3 separate regions of the Homo sapiens genome follow, and all the other regions are linked to region 1. Evidence: promoter capture Hi-C in 16 types of primary human blood cells and fetal thymus (Javierre and others, 2016). All regions are on one chromosome and are shown on one strand. Each heading gives the region's core, a stretch centred on a gene start or on the middle of the fragment in contact. The rest is flanking DNA. Distances are from core to core; before and after follow the strand shown.

Region 1 (3,461 bases), core at 255-2,754:
CTGTATACAGCTGCACTGTTTAAACTACCTGTCCACCAGGAGATTATAATCTAGCAGCACTCTCCTTGTTTTCAGGGGTGCAGTCCAGTTAGCCCATGTTAGCACTGATATAAATTTGGGGGAAGACAGCAATTATGCTCTTCTCACTCATTCTGTATTCTAGGTACCCAACTCCAGAGGATCTAACTGGCCAAAAGCAATGGTACAGCTCTGGGCCTTTGTGCATGCTCTTCTCTGTTGTGTGCACTCCTACACATCCCTGAGGCCCCAGCTCAGGACACTCCACTGAGGTCCCCATCATAGCCCCCTGGCAGAATTGACTGCCTCTGTGCTCCCTGCGTAGCGCATTTATATCTATTCTGCACAGATCTTGTTCTTTTACACAGTAGTCCCCCTTATCTATAGTAGATACCTTCCAAGCCCCCCAGTGGATACCTGAAACGGTGGACAAAACTGAACCCTGTATCTACTACGTTTTTTCCTATACATACATACCTATGATATAGTTTAACTTTATCAATTAGGCACAGTAAGAGATGAACAACAATAATAAAATAACAGCAATTATAACAATATGCCAGCATTGCTAAGCTTGCACTTTGGGGCCATTACTAAGTAAAATAAGGGTTACTTCAATACCGCCACGGTCGATCCGATCACCAAGCTAGCTACTAAGTGACTAAGGGCGGCTACTAGAGATAGGAGGCTGACCTTGGACAAAGGGGCATTCCGGTCCCAGGAATCAAGATTTCATCCTGCTACGCAGAATGGCCGGAAACTTAAAACTTAGGACTTCTGTATTTCTGGAATTTTCCATTTAATAGTTATGGACAAGAGCTGACCACAGGTAACTGAAATCGCGGATAAAGGGGGCTACTATCCGCAGTTCTCTAGTACTTGGGAGTTTCTTGCGACACTCATTTCTGCAACCGAGTGTCTCTCAACAAATCAAACTGTTCGGAATGTTTGGAATATTTTAAACGAAAGAATGCATTCAACAGGCAGTGCCCAACTCCCCAAGTTGGGATTCTCTCCTTGGATCAGTCTCTCCTGTTTACCCCCCTCCTCTCACCACCGGCTGCAGGGGGACCTCTCACTCCTTTCCTTCCCAGTCCAAATGCTGGGCGGTGGAGAGCCGCACTCGCGACAGACACCAGAACGCACCTTCGATAGCACATTCCTGCCCCACCTGCCCCTCAGCACCCGCTGCAGCCCCGACGAGGGTGGGGGTGGGAGGCAGCAATCCTTCAGGTCCTCGGCAGCCCTGCGGGCCTACCTTGTCCCCTTTGCTTAGGACCTGCCAAGGCCACGTCTCTACGCTTCCGAACAGCGAGTTCTTGATCATGCCCAACATGTTGTAGCCGAGACGCTCCCGACGCACGGGAGGACGTGAGGTGGCGGGGGCGACGGAGCACCACGGGCAGCGACCACCGGCGGCAGGGCGGCAGGGCGGCAGGGCGGCAGGGCGGCAGGGTGGCAGGGCGGCAAGGCGGCGGGACGGCGAGGCGGCGAGGCGAGAGGCGGGGCTAGAGGCAGGGGCCAGAGGGCGTGGCTAGAGGGCGGGGCGGCAATTCAGCCCGGCGGTGAGGCAAGGGGGCGGGACGGCGAGGTGAAGGGGCGGAGAGAGAGGGCGGGGCGGCGAGGCGAGGGGGCGGAGAGAGGGCGGGTCAGTGATGCGAAGGGCGGGCAGCAGGGCAGCAGTGCAGCAGTGCAGCAGTGCGGTGAGGCGAGGGTGCGAGGCGGCTAAGCAAGGGATGGGCCCGCCGTGGCGAGCCGCTGGGCCGTGTTCCGCCTCCTTTCGGGCTTTCCGCGGGTGTCTGGGGAGGGAACCCGGCCGCGGGCCTCAGGCCGTCCCCCTCCGCAGACCCCTTCTCTTATTCTGAGTCTAACCTATCCGCTGGGGCCCTGGAAAGCGATTCTCGCCTGGAGTGGCTTTAGGCAGCGGTGGTGGGGAACGTCCTCTCTCAGGTGCCTGGGCTCCAACCTCCGAGCCCCGGGTTGCTCACGCTTCTCCGGTCCTCTACCCGAAGGCTCGATCCCGCTGGTACAGCGGCGGCCAGGCTCCCTGTCTTGGTAGCTGTCCCTCTACCCCCGCCCCATGACCTCTTCTAGACCATTGAAAGAGCATCCAAACCACTTTCCTGCTGCCACTCTTTCCTACCATCCCTCTAAATCACAGTTTCCAGGTGACTTTTCTAAGCATGGCTTTTCTCGTTCACTCCTGTTCAAAAATCTTCTCACCAATTTTGTCACCATTTACTCAGCTGAGTGCCTGCTTTCTGTCAAGTATTTTACCAATAAATCTCTACTCCACACCACCGACAAGAAATATTTTGGAGCCATTTAAAAAGGAGGAAACGGAAGCTTCTGCCGCTGCCTGATCCTCCATTGCTCCGAGCCGCGCGGGTGCAGCGGGCTGTGGAGCCGCGGGCCGAGCCCCGCCGGAGCGCCCGAGAGCCCGCGCGTCCCGGGCGTCCGTCGGGGTCCGAGGTCCCTCCCTCAGGGAGTCCCCGCTCGGCAGCGCTCTCGCGTTTCACGCAGCGGCCGGGGATCTGGGACAGGCGGGGCCCCGAGGCCGAGCCTGGCGCTGCCCAGCGGCCGGTGCAGGCCTCAAGCTGGGCCGGGCGGAGGGGAACCGGCGAGTTGAAGCCCCGGGGCCGAAAGCCGGAGCCTGTGGCGGCCGCGGGGGTGGGGAGGGGGGTGGGGCGGCTTCTTGGGCAGCGCCACACGGCGGCGCAGTGATGGATGTTAACAGCAGCGGCCACCCGGACCTCTACGGGCGCCTCTGCTCTTTCCTCCTGCCGGAGGTGGGGGGCAGGCTGCCCGACCTGAGCCCCGACGGTGGCGCCGAACCGGTCGCGGTCTCCGGGACGCCGCATCTGCTGAGCGGGGGCCCCCGAGGTGACGGCCAGCCCGGCGCCCACCTGGGACGCAACCCCGGGCAATGCCTCCGGCCGCGGGGAGCAAATCAAGAAAGGGCCGAGAAAGTTGTGATCGGCTCTGTCCTGACGCTCATCTCTCTGCGATCGCGGGCAACTGCCTGGTGGTATCTCCGTGTGCTTCGTCAAGAAGCTCCGCCAGCCCTCCAACTACCTGATCGTGTCCATGGCGCTGGCCAACCTCTCGGTGGCCATGGCGGTCATGCCCTTCATCAGTGTCACCGACCTCATCGGGGGCAAGTGGATCTTTGGACACTTTTTCTGTAACGTCTTCTCCATGAATGTCATGTGCTGCACGGCCTGGATCTTGACCTTGTACGTGATCAGCATCGACAGGTACCTTGGGATCATGAAGCCTCTCACGTACCCTATGAGGCAGAAGGGGAAATGCATGACGAAGATGATTCTTTCTGTCTGCCTTCTTTCCGCCTTTGTCACTTTACCTACCATTTTTGGTCGGGCTCAGAATGTAAACGATGATAAGGTGTGCTTGGTCAGTCAAGACTTTGGCTACACGATTTA
Region 2 (3,461 bases), core at 269-2,768, 1.4 Mb after region 1:
TTCCTATCTATTTGGTAAGCATATGCTCAGAATCAATTTACATAATGTTTCAGAATAGTATCTTGAAATACTCTGCAAAAATCTTGCATACTAATTTTCTCAGTAATATCCAAATGCATTTCAGTTTATTTGCCTCTCGAGTGTCATATACCTTTTCAAGTGTGATTGGATCAGTGTGTATTTAAAAACTATGGGAAATTTCTTATATAACTCATGCTCAGAAGCAAGAAGTGCTAAGTAACATCATATCCACTTAGTAATGTTATATATTCGTTTTTGTAGTACTGGGTCCTACTCTGTTAGCATAAATTAGCCATCCTTTGTTGTGTATGGATATGGCAGATGTATTTATTAAGTAAAGCCAATATAGAATGTTGACATTACAGAATTTAGAGGAGTAGGAGAAGTGTTTTGGGTATAGTCTGGCTGAGTTCTTCAAATACACTGTGAGAAAATAACTTATCTAAAAACATGACTTGAATTCACGGCCTAGAGTTTCCTGTGTTTCAGTACAAATAAGAATCATAAAAACAGTAAATTCTCTTTGAAAAAAATTCATTTTCAGAGCTATAAACTGGCAGCCAGCAAACTTACTTTTATTCTTTAGTCACCAGCCCATTTCTCTAATTGTTTGTTTTTTGTTTTTTTTGTTTTTGAGACGGAGTTTCGCTCTTGTTGCCTAGGCTGGAGTGCAATGGCGCGATCTCGGCTCACCGCAACCTCTGCCTCCCAGGTTCAAGCAATTCTCCTGCCTCAGCCTCCCGAGTAGCTGGGTTTACAGGCATGCACCACCACGCCCGGCTAATTTTGTATTTTTAGTAGAGACTGGGTTTCTCCATGTTGAGGCTGGTCTTGAACTCCTGACCTTAGGTGATCCGCCCGCCTCGGCCTCCCAAAGTGCTGGGATTACAGGCGTGAGCCACCGCCCCCAGCCCCATTTCTCTAATTGTTAACATTTAAAGTTGTCAGATTTTACCTAAAAATCTAGATGTCTTGCCTCTTGAAAAGCAAACAACATTTTTGCTTGAGGATAGCAATCTACAATTGAGTATAGATGCTGTCTCCTTCAGATAGGGCCTTCTCTTGCCCACCTCTGGTCCTCTTCACTGAATCACGTTACCTGCGTGGCCTTGGAAGACAGTTCCTTTTAAAGACCTATCCTACGTATTTGATAGTTTATTGGCAGCCTTAAATATCTAAAATATAACTTCTAACCCAAAAGAAAGTAAACATAAGTAAAATTTAGCCTACTTTACTTGGTAGGAGAGACTTAGAATATATAAAGTCAGTTTACTCTTTAGAAGATATGGCACCTTTTGTAACCTTTCACTTTGTCCTAATTTTATATAGAGTGCCATGGGAGCCAAATGAAGGAGATCCAATGGCATAACAACAAGTAACGATTGAAAGTGAAGAGATTAAAGAAATACTAATTAGAAACATCTAAGTACCTTGAGATCTTTTATGTGATAATCAGTTCTGTTTTCTTTAAATGTTACCGCTGTGTTAAAGGACATCACTATCAACTTGATGTTCTTAATGGTGATACTGAATAAGAAAAAGTTAAAGTGTATTCAAGCTATGCAGTTTACTGAACAGATAAATGAAATAACATTTTATAAAAGATTTTTGCTCAAATTAGTTGAGCTAAGAAGTTTATCACTGAAAATAATGAGTAAATTTCCTAATAGAATGTTTTCTTAACCGTACACTAGATTAGATAATGGCCGTTAGGCCATTACAAACTTTATTTTTGTTGAAAACTTACATCTATTTACATTTATTAATTTAACATTTACAGTGTCTATGTGAAGACTACCTTGATGATGCATGAAACATGATAATTTATAATCTTGATCTGACTTAAATTTGAATTCCACATTTCCCAGAGTGAAAGCCAGCTTGTTAACATTCAAATAATACCACGACATTGGTAACTCTAAGGAAGTGCTAAAAGAATGTTATGCCTTTTTGGAAAATGGTTTTCTAGTTAGAGTTCAACTTTAGAGAAAATTGAAAAAGTGATTAACTTGCACAGGAAACAGTGACTCCCCTGCTTTACTGCTCTTCACACTTTGAAAAGAGAAAGTGATTTGAGAGAAAGCCTAATGTCTATTCAAATAAGTGATTGTTTTTTAATTGCTCAGGTTAGAACTCTCACAAAGAGTTCTCTGTTGGTGATATGTAACAGTCTGTTATTAGTCATTAATATGTGAATATGGAAATTGTGAAAACAGCACAAATTGATTTAGCAAATCTTCATCAGTTTAGTGAAAGAGGGACCTTAACACTGGAGAGAGGTCTGAGGAGTTGCTTCTGCATCTGCCTGAGGGAATCTTGTCTTTCCTTCTGAAGTAAGGCAGATACAGCTAGCCAACTGCCAGTAGAACTATCTGACTCGTGTATCCCTTTGTTGGATATAGAAATACCTGTACCATGGCATACATAGTGGAAAACATTAGTATAGAAGTTAGGAAAAGATTACTTCTGCTCTCGTACTGTTATTAAGTAATTGTGTAGTTTTGGATAAATATTTAACCTCTTTGTGTTATCCCTGATCATTAAATGAGATGGGTCGTTGGAAGAACACCAACTTTGAGTCAAACAGAGTCAGGGTGAATCCATGTTCTTCCTCTCATTAGTTATAGGTTATATGAAAAATGGATATATAGTGCTCAAAGTACAGTACCTATTTATGATTATGTGTTCAGTAAGTCTTAGGTATTTTGTTTGTTTGTTTGTTTGTTTTGAGACAGAGTTTTGCTCTTGTTGCCCAAGCTGGAGTGCAATGGTGCTATCTCAGCTCACTTCAACCTCCGCCTCCCAGGTTCAAGCGGTCTTCCTGCCTCAGCCTCCTGAGTAGCTGGGATTATAGGCGTGCGCCACCATGCCTGGCTAATTTTGTATTTTTAGTAGACACGGGGTTTCACCATGTTGGCCAGGTTGGTCTCGAACTCCTGACCTCAAGTGATCTGCCTGCCTCGGCCTCCAAAAGTGCTGGGATTACAGGTGTGAGCCACCATGCCTGGCCAAGTCTTAGGTATTTTTATGGAATGAGGCAAGTTACTTATTTTCAGAACCTCAGTTTTTCTTGTTTTTAAAATGGGAATAATGTTTATCATAAAGAACTAATATTGGGGTTTAAATGAGGATAACAAATATAAAGTCAAGTGAAGTGTAGCACAAATTAAATATTGGTTGCATTTGTTTCACAAGACTCCCTTTAGCACAGATCTTTTTTTTTTCTTTTTTTTCTTTTAAAAATCATCATTTCAGGAAGAATGGAGTTGGGAGAAATCTGGTCTACTGGGTAGTTTAGAAAAGGATCTTTAGGGAGAGGGCGTATTTAGGGGCCTGGCTGATTTACAGTAAAAATGTCACAGAGCAGGGTCTTTAGAATCTCCAAGTGAAGACTTTGAAGAGTCTAAAGGGGACAAAATAAGAATTCTTACTTGTGCAAA
Region 3 (3,461 bases), core at 85-2,584, 1.4 Mb after region 1:
TTTTGTAGAAGGATAAAGCTAAAAAGATGGAAAGGGAATCTGCTGTTTTGAGGACCAGGAGAAAGAGTTTGATGGAACAATAAAGGATGACTTGACTGCTGCAGCTTATTCCCAGCTAAGGCTTTGGAGCCTTAGATGTATATCTGCCCTGTTACTCTTATTAGATAGAATGTCATAGGAAAAAGCATGTAAGGGAAAAGAGAGACTGCTTTTGAACTCTTTTATTTCCTTTTAGGTGGTAAATGTCAGAAGTGAATTCCATTAGAGTAAAAACTAAGCTGCCACAGTATAGGAGACTCCATTCCTGTTGTTTAAAGATGACACATGTTTTTTTCTCATGTAACCATACAAAGTAAGACTGTTTAGAGTTTGTAAGTGGTTTTGCCTTAACATATGGCTTCCATCACTAGGTGAAACATGATTACTCTCTAGTTTTACTAGCTAGAGGCAAGGAAGAAAGAACAATGGGAGTGCATATTCTTTCTTTTGAGAGCATGATATGGAAGTGGCACATAGCACTTTGACTCATGGTTTATGTGTGATCATTTAGTCATTGGGACATATTTAGCTGGGAAAGGAAGTCTGGGAAATATATCTAGCTGGATAATCATATGCTTAGCTAAAACTAGAGAATTTTATAAAAGAGAAATGGATATTAATGAATAGCATTTTCTGCTATATAAGGAATTGGGAGAAGTGGTCTCAAAGTACTTCATAATTTGGTACTGAAAACTATTTCTCTTTTAAGATTTAGGTTCAGTTATAGTATAACTGTATATTTTCCATTGAAATGGTATTTTGGGGGTTTTGTGTTCATGATTTGTGGTTGGGGTCCCAGTTATTATAAATATTTATATTTGATAGAATTCTTCCCCTCTCTGCTTGCCGTTGAAAACATTATGATTAGTTTTGCAAGAATTAGAATTTCAAATTTTTAAAACTCAGTGTAGTATTTTTGAACTTTACAGGTTAACTTGCTTAATTCAAAAGGACTGTAGATGAATCGAGTGACAATTGTTTGAATAGTTTATGTTTGCATTATTTTATCCAGATTTTTTTTTCTCTGTTTATAACTGTATGTATAAAATATACATTTTCCATGATGGAAAATATGACTTTTTTTTTTTTTAATTGAGACTAGGGTCTCACTCTGTCACTCCAGCTGGAGTGCAGTGGTGTGATCATGGCTCACTGTAACCTTGACCTCCTGGGCTCAAGGGATCCTCCTGACTCAGCCTCCTAGGTAGCTTGGACTACAGGCACATGCCACCAAACCCAGCTAATTTTGTAATTTTTTTTTTTTTTTTTTTTTGTGGAGATGGGGGTCTTGCCTTGTTGCCCAGGCTGGTCTTGAACTCCTGGGCTCAAGCAATCCTCCCCTCTTGGCCTCCCAAAATGTTGGGATTACAGGTGTGAGCCACTGTGCCTGGCCGAAAATGTGACTTCCAAGGGCCTTGTAATATACACAGGTAAAAAGATTGTGGTTGTAAATTCTCTGCATATAGGCAAAACTTACCTGATTAATAAGTAAGTAGTTAAAAGTAGCTTTCTACAGAATATGACAAGTAAAACAATATATATTTTTGTAGGGTACAGAAAGTGGTGAGAGTGTTGGAAGGAGATCAAGGAGATTTTATGGGAGTTGTATTTTAAGGAATGAATTAGACAGATAATACTAGTAAAGAGAATAAATAGTATGTTCAAAATCTTAGAGCCAGAAAGGAAGGTAGTGTGTTAGGAGAACTCTTAATAGCTCTGTGATACAAATCCTTGGTTTTTGTGAATAAAAGTCATAGTTGCCATGGCACCCACATAGTATGCCTATTAAAGCATGTTGTTGCTCTCAACTGGAAATTCTCTAATTTTTCTTTGCTTTACTTCATATATTTTTTAAAGGCATTTATTCCTTTCCACTTTTATATTTATAGTTATTTGTTTTTTGTGTAGTACTTTATAAGTTTCCTGGGGTTAGGAATCATATCTTATTGATATATCTGACAATTTTTTAAGACAAATCCTTTCTAATAAGGTATGATAAGACCACTATTAAAAGTGTAAGATTGCTTTCCACCATGCCTTGCTTTCCACCATGCCTCCCTTAATATTCAATAAATACTTGCTTATTGAAAGAATAGAATTCCTTCGTTTTAGGTGGAGGTGAAAAAAAAAAGGGAATAAGATATTCTAATTATTTTCTTTTATTTAACTCATTATCCACAGATGTCAGAACTTTTTTTTTTTAATCAAACATGTAATTTACTCAGATGGCAAATACCCACATGATGAATTGTCATGGGAAGATTTGACAGGCACTTTACATATGAAAAATAATAAATAGTTGCTTTTAGGAAAAACAGTTTTCAATGTCATCCATTAAGAACCAGTTGCTTGTTAATAAAAAGTTTCTAAAATATGACTGTGAAGAACCTACGTATGTAAATTAATAAGGGTTTGAGGAAAAGATGGAATGATATAATTATTTTGTATTTTAGGTTTGTATAATCCTCTTCCCCCACCAAACTTACTTTAAATGATTTAAACATTGAAAGATAAAAATAAATAAAAAAATGAAGAAAGAAAAGAAGAACAAAAGAAAAAACAAAAAATTTTCCTAAAATCAGTTAGTTATACAGTGAAGTGGAAAGAACAGTAGTTTTGTATTGGGACCTGGGCAATTAGTGTCTCCTCTCAGTGTTCTTTATCTTTAAAATGTGGTGTTACCACCTACATGGTAGTGTTGTGAGGGTTAAATATGATTAGATATATAAAATGCTTAGCATCTGTGCCTCACACATATCTCTAGCTTTAATCAATTGGTGAATCAATTAGTCAGTCATGAATATTTATTAAGAAGCAACTATGTGCAGGGAGCCCTGCAGTACAGGGAGATTTATGAAAATAATATTCTTGATTTCTGGAGCTAGAATGTAAATGCATTTAAAAAGTAACTTGGAAAGGTCGGTTTCATATTACCACTCATTAGTAAGGTAAATAAGCATTTAAGAAAGTAGTTTACTTGTAAAGGTTTGTGATGGAGACCAGTTTTAGGACTGACTCATTAAAAAACAAACGGGTATTTAAAGGAAAAAACGCCACACGATTACTAAATTCACTAAATTTACAGTAAACATCTTCCTGGTGAAAAAGCAGCCATTTTCTCACATTGATTGTCATATCTGCAAGGTTTGGCAGCATTCATCATTGGCAAAGTTAGGGATGAAGGCATTTATTTTGGGCACTAATTCCACATAGGATTCCTCCTTGCCCTCCTTTAAAAACATCTGCTGGACATGCTTACTCAAAATTGAGACAAAGTATCATTTTTCATCCATAGCCCTTCCTTGAAATCAAGCTCCAGCCTCTTAAGGCACAGATTTGGCCATAAAGTTTGTTAAATGATTTTCCGATTTGGTATATTTTCATGTTTTCTTTAGCCATTTGATTCACATAGGTCTAATGAG

Evidence for each region. The method cuts DNA at HindIII sites, captures the fragments that hold promoters and counts their contacts. A CHiCAGO score of 5 or more calls a contact.
Region 2: a fragment that was not itself captured here is called in contact with the fragment with the promoter of HEBP1 in region 1 in 4 of 17 cell types (M2 macrophages, erythroblasts, total CD4 T cells and 1 more); the score reaches 7.1 in M2 macrophages.
Region 3: a fragment that was not itself captured here is called in contact with the fragment with the promoter of HEBP1 in region 1 in 2 of 17 cell types (M2 macrophages and erythroblasts); the score reaches 9.2 in M2 macrophages.

Annotation. Positions count from the first base shown.
Region 1 is chr12:12,998,761-13,002,221 of GRCh38, forward strand. It overlaps HEBP1 (heme binding protein 1), which reads right to left and starts at 1,505. Exons shown (of 4, transcript NM_015987.5): 1 at 1,277-1,505. The coding sequence starts at 1,354. The region is part of intron 2 of GPRC5D-AS1 (GPRC5D and HEBP1 antisense RNA 1); the gene reads left to right. It also overlaps the pseudogene HTR7P1. RefSeq lists silencers at 1,370-1,519, 1,570-1,689, 2,450-2,599 and an enhancer at 3,024-3,461. The HindIII fragment of the contact is 1,773 bases long and covers 590-2,362 here.
Region 2 is chr12:14,388,990-14,392,450 of GRCh38, forward strand. All of the region lies in intron 1 of ATF7IP (activating transcription factor 7 interacting protein), which reads left to right. Among named protein-coding and RNA genes, the nearest start is that of ATF7IP, 25 kb to the left of the region's middle. The HindIII fragment of the contact is 8,543 bases long and covers 1-3,461 here.
Region 3 is chr12:14,372,982-14,376,442 of GRCh38, forward strand. The region is part of intron 1 of ATF7IP (activating transcription factor 7 interacting protein); the gene reads left to right. Among named protein-coding and RNA genes, the nearest start is that of ATF7IP, 9.0 kb to the left of the region's middle. The HindIII fragment of the contact is 4,822 bases long and covers 1-3,461 here.